Regions from separate parts of the Homo sapiens genome. Here region 2 is linked to region 1. The links are contacts of gene promoters, found by promoter capture Hi-C in human tissues and cell types (Jung and others, 2019). All regions are on one chromosome and are shown on one strand. The core of a region is centred on a gene start or on the middle of the fragment in contact, and the rest is flanking DNA. Distances in the headings are between cores, read along the strand shown. Region 1 holds the start of IGFL2 (IGF like family member 2). Region 2 has its middle 5.6 kb from the start of IGFL4.

The links. The method cuts DNA at HindIII sites, captures the fragments that hold promoters and counts their contacts. A contact is called where the count stands out against the background at its distance.
Region 2: a fragment that was not itself captured here is called in contact with the fragment with the promoter of IGFL2 in region 1 in 2 of the 25 tissues and cell types used here (mesenchymal stem cells and pancreas).

What each region holds. Positions count from the first base shown.
Region 1 is chr19:46,146,887-46,149,599 of GRCh38, reverse strand. It overlaps IGFL2 (IGF like family member 2), which reads right to left and starts at 1,362. Exons shown (of 4, transcript NM_001135113.2): 1 at 1,303-1,362. The coding sequence starts at 1,321. The HindIII fragment of the contact is 7,392 bases long and covers 1-2,713 here.
Region 2 is chr19:46,045,267-46,047,979 of GRCh38, reverse strand. It overlaps a transcript of IGFL4 not described here. Among named protein-coding and RNA genes, the nearest start is that of IGFL4, 5.6 kb to the right of the region's middle. The HindIII fragment of the contact is 3,232 bases long and covers 1-2,713 here.

The sequences.
Region 1 (2,713 bases), core at 113-2,612:
CAGATAGGTAAATCCATAGAGACAGAAAGCTGACTGGTGGTTGCCAAGGGTGAGGGTAGAGGGGAAAGAGAGGAACAGCTAAATGGGCATGCGGTGGTCGGGGGCTATGGAGCCAGGTGACTCGGAGGTAAAAAGCAATTCTGGAAGATGACTGAGCTACTCTTCCTTCAACTTGAGAGAGGAAGGAAGAGAAGGAAGGAGAGGAGGGAAAAGACAGGGAGGGGAGAGGGGAAGAGAAGAGAGGGGGATGTGAGACAGAGGGACACAGGGAGATGGGGAGGGGAGGGGGAGGGGGAGAGGGGAAGAGGGGGAGAGGTGGAAAGGGTGAGGGGTGAGTGGGAAAGAGAAAGAGAGAGAGAGAGAAAAGGGAGAGAGAGAAAAGAGAGGGAGAGAGAAAGAGAGGGAGAGAGAAAGAGAGAGAGAAGAGAGAGAGAGAGAAGAGAGAGAGGGAGAGAGAGAGATGGTTGCCCAAAAAGAAGTTAGTGAACACAGCAGGCATTGCTCATCTTGATGGAATACACACAACAAAACTCAGTCCACTGCCTGGGCTGCCCTTACTTACCCAGCACACTCCTGGGGTAGTCGGTCCTCATGCCTGAGACACTGAACCTCATGATTTCCTGGCGCTGAGAGCCCAGGAACTCCAGGCAATAGTGCCTGGGCTACAGGGCTGGGTCTGGTTCGAGGGCAGGATGATCCCCTCATCACAGTCCCAACAGATTGCAGATCTAGTCTCCACTCCTGAGTGTCAACTGGCACAACCACAGTCCAATATCTGGAAGAGTCAGAGCTGATGAGCTGGCAGGGGACCTCTGGGAGCCCCCAACCCTATCCACAGTGCTATAATCCTCCCTCCTTTCTTCTCCCTCCACTCACCACACCCATTCTCACCTATGGTCCCTTCTGAGTCTGAGCCCAGGAGTTCAAAAATAAAGATCAGCTGAGAGAAGAATGACAGTGATTCTGGGGTCACCAGATCATGATCATGGGGCACAAGATGATGTCTCTGAGTTTCTTTGGTTGCTGTAACAGCTCAGAGCAGATTTTGGGACTGACTCTGTGTGCAGGTTCTGGGCATTGGGCTTGGCAGGTGAGGAAATGCAGGGAGGGCTCTGGAAAGGGTTAAGCTTCTGGAATTTGCAGGTGGGGAAGAGAGATTGCAATGCAGTCAGAGAGGACACGGGTGATTATGAGGTGGGAAACCAAGAATTAAATAGGGAAGAGAGAATTAAGTTTGAGGTTCAGAGGTACATTAGGGATAACAGTAGGCATTAGCTCAACCTGGGGCAAGGGTTACCTTACCGAAGATTCTGGGCACCATGGAGCTTCAGAGCAGCTGATGGGACAGCAGCAGTGCAAATGGGTCAGTGACTTTATACAGGGACTTATGTAGGCTATGAACTTATCCACATTTAGGGAGGTGCCCAGAAGCACTGGCCTCTTGGAAAGGGTGGGGCATGAGAAGCCACAGAAAGCATAAGAAAAAACTGCATCAACAGCTTAGTAAGATGTTCCTGGACCTGTTCCAAGTGACTGCTACCTTCTCAGACCTCTCGAAATCTCAGAGTAAAGGCTTCCCTAGAACCTTTCAAAGCCGTGAGTGAGTGTCATTCTTTGAACTCTGCCCACGGCAAAGAGACTTGAAAGAGATTCCTTGGCTCTCACTTATCTGAGAGCATACTACTCACCAAACATCACAGCTGGTGATGAAACTTCATATTCATCCACCCTGAAGTTTCAAGGGGTCCCTCTACTCCCCATCTCAGTCCGGCTCCAGACCTGCACTATGAGAAACAAACGCACCCGTCCAAACCCAAAGAATGGACTCAGAGACACAGAAAACAGTGGAAGCAAGACTTTTAATGATGGTCTTGCAAGATTGAATGTCTGGTAGGCAGGCACACCCAGTACGGTTACAACAAGCTATTTATCCCCTAGTGCACAAGTCTCTCCCCTGGTTCCTCGTAGGCTAAGTACGATGGGGTCACGATCTTCCCAGACGTCGCCTATTGGTTGCTGGGTTGAGGCTTTTAGGTGTTTTCTTTAGGATTGTCTCACTGCATTTTGTTGCAGCCTATAATACATTGCAATCAAAGCCAGCTCGAGGGCTTTTCAAGTATTTGACTTATGACCTAGGCAGTCAGGCAAGCTGATAAGAATAGATAAAGTGAGCTATTTTGCTGGCTAGTAAACTTTCATTCTAGACTAAACTCTGGTTTGGGAGAGGGTAACTAAGGGGACCCCGACAAGCATGCACCAGCTATGGGCCTAGTATATTCTGTCCTTCCATAGTTTGTGGGCCTCAGCCTATCTGAGGTACTTTGTCTTGGAAATGGACCACCATATCCATTATTATAATTGTAGACAGCACTGTCTATAATTCTTCAGAGTCATTTAGGGGAAACTGTGAAGATGCAGCATAATCTAGAAAAAGAGCAGGGGCTGTAAAAACCCTGCCAGGGAGAACAGAAAAGGAACAGACAGTGATAAAATAGACATCTGGGATTCATAGAATAGATGGAAAGGCAGCCCCTTTTTGTTGTTGTTTCTGGAGTGCTTTGTCCAAGGAAACGCTCCTTCTGTGTTTCTTACTGTTATTTTATTGTCACCATCACTATTATTTGTGTCACTGGATACCATGTGGGCTATTATTAGAATGCGCTCCTGTGTTTTCCATTGACTTCCTTCCCATCCCACAGTGAGATAGGTGGGA
Region 2 (2,713 bases), core at 152-2,651, 100 kb after region 1:
TGAAGTTTTCTTATTTTGTTGTATCTCTGCCAGGTTTTGGTATCAGGATGATGCTGGGCTCATAGGATGAATTAGGGAGGAATCCCTCACTTTCAATTTTTTGGAATAGTTTCCGTAGAAATTGTACCAGATCTTTGTACTTCTGGTAGAATTCAGCTGTGAATGCTTCCAACTTTGGGCTTTTTTTGGTTGGTAGGCTATTTATTACCCCCCAATTTCGGAAATCATAATTGGTCTATTCAGGGATTCAGTTTCTTCTTGGTTTAGTCTTGGGAGGGTGTATGTGTCTAGGGATGTATCCATTTCTTCTAGATTTTCTAGTTTATGTGCATAAAGGTGTTTATAGTATTCTGTGATGTTTGTTTATATTTCCGTGGGGTCAGTGGTAATATCTCCCTTGTCATTTCTGATTATGTTTATTTGATTATTCTCTCTTTTCTTCTTCATTAGTCTGGCTAGCAGTCTATCTATTTTATAAATTTTTTCAAAAAAACAGCTCCTGGATTCATTAATTTTTTGAAGGGCTTTTTGTGTTTCTATCTCCTTCAGTTATTGCTTATTTCTGTTAACCAATAACTTATCTTGGTTATTTCTTGTTTTCTGCTAGCTTTGGGGTTGGTTTGCTCTTGGTTCTCTAGTTCTTTTAGTTGAGATGTTAGGTTGTTAACTTGAGATCTTTCTAGCTTTCTGATGTGGGTTATTTATTGCTATAAATTTCCCTCTTAACACCACTTGAGCTGTGTCCCAGAGAATCGGGTACATTGTCTCTTAGTTCTCATTAGTTTCAAGAATTTCTTGCTTTCTGCCTTGATTTCATTATTTACCCAAGAGTTATTCAGGAGCAGATTGTTCAGTTTCCATGTAGTTGTGTGGTTTTGAGTGAATTTTTAAATCTTGATTTCTAATTTGTTGTGCTGTGGTCTGAGAGACTGTTTGTTATGACTTCAGTTCTTTTGCTTTTGCGAGGAGTGTTTTACTTCTGATTTTGTGATCAATTTTAGAGTGAGTGCCATGTGGCAATGAGAAGAATGTATATTCTGTTGTTTGGGGTAGAGAGTTCTGTAGATATCTATCAGGTCCACTTGATCCAGAGCTGAGTTCAGGTCCTGAATATCTTTGTTAATTTTCTGTCTCGATGATCTAATATTGACAGTGGGTGTTAAAGTATTCCACTATTGTTGTGTGGGAGTCTTAAGTCTCTTGTAGATCTGTAAGAACTTGCTTTATGAATCTGGGTTCTCCTGTATTGGATGCATATATATTTAGGATACTTAGCTCTTCTTGTCCAATTGATCCCTTTACCATTATGTAACACCCTTCTTTGTCTTTCTGGATTTTTGTTGGTTTAAAGTCTGTTTGGTCAGAAACTAGGGTTGCAACCCATGCTTTTTTCTGTTTTCCATTTCCTTGATAAATTTCTCCTCCATCCCTTTATTTTGAGCCTATGTGTGTCCCACATGTGAGATGGGTCTCTCGAAGACAGTATATCAATGGGTCTTGGCTCTTTATCCAACTTGCCATTCTGTGTCTTTTAATTCAGGAATTTAGCCCACTTACATTTAAGGTTAGTATTGTTATGTGTGAATTTGTTCCTGTCATCATGATGCTAGCTGGTTATTTTACAGACTTGTTTTGTTGGTTGCTTCATAGTGTTACTTGTCTGTGTATTTCAGTGTGTTTTTGTAGTGGCTGGTAAAGGTTTTCCCTTTCCATATTTATTGCTTCCTTCAGGAGCTCTTGCAAGGCAGGCTTGGTGGTGACGAATTCCCACAGCATTTGCTTGTCTGAAAAGGACCTTATTTCTCCACTTATGAAGCTTAGTTTGGCTGGATATGAAATCCTGGGTTGGAAATTCTTTTAAGAATGTTGAATATTGGCCCCCAATCTCTTCTGGCTTGTAGGATTTCCACTGAGAGGTCCGCTGGTAGTCTGATGGGCTTTTCTTTGTAGGTTACCTGGCCTTTCTCTCTGGCTGCCCTTAACATTTTTTCTTTCATTTCGACAATGAAGAATCTGCTGATTATATGTCTTGGGGTAAATCTTCTTATGGAGTATCTCACTGGGGTTCTCTGTATTTACTGAATTTGAATGTTGGCCTGTCTTGCAAGTTTGGGGAAGTTCTCCTGGATGATATCCTGGAGTATGTTTTCCAACTTGGTTCCAATTTCCCTGTCTCTTTCAGGTACCCCAATCAGTCATAGATTCTGTCTCTTTACATATTTCTCAGAGGTTTTGTTCAGTTCTTTTTGTTCTTTTTTCTCTATTCTTGTCTGCCTGTATAATTTCAGAAGGACGGTCTTTAAGCTCTGAAATTCTTTCCTCTGCTTGAACTATTCTGTAACTGATACTTATGATTGCATTGTGAAGTTCTTGTGTTTTCCAGTTCCATTGGGTCAGTTATGTTCCTCTCTAAACTGGCTATTCTGTCAGCTCCTGTATAATTTATCATGATTCTTAGCTTATTTGCAATGGGATACAACATCCTCCTTTAGCTCAGTGAAGTTCATTATTACCCATCTTTTTCTTTTTTTTTTTTGAGACAGAGTTTCACTCTTGTCACCCAGGCTGGAGTGCAGTGGCGCGATCTCAGCTCACTGTAACCTCTGCCTCCCGGGTTCAAGCGATTCTCCTGCCTCAGCCTCCTCAGCATCTGGGATTATAGGCATGTGCCACCATGCCCAGCTAACTTTTGTATTTTTAGTAGAGAGGGGGT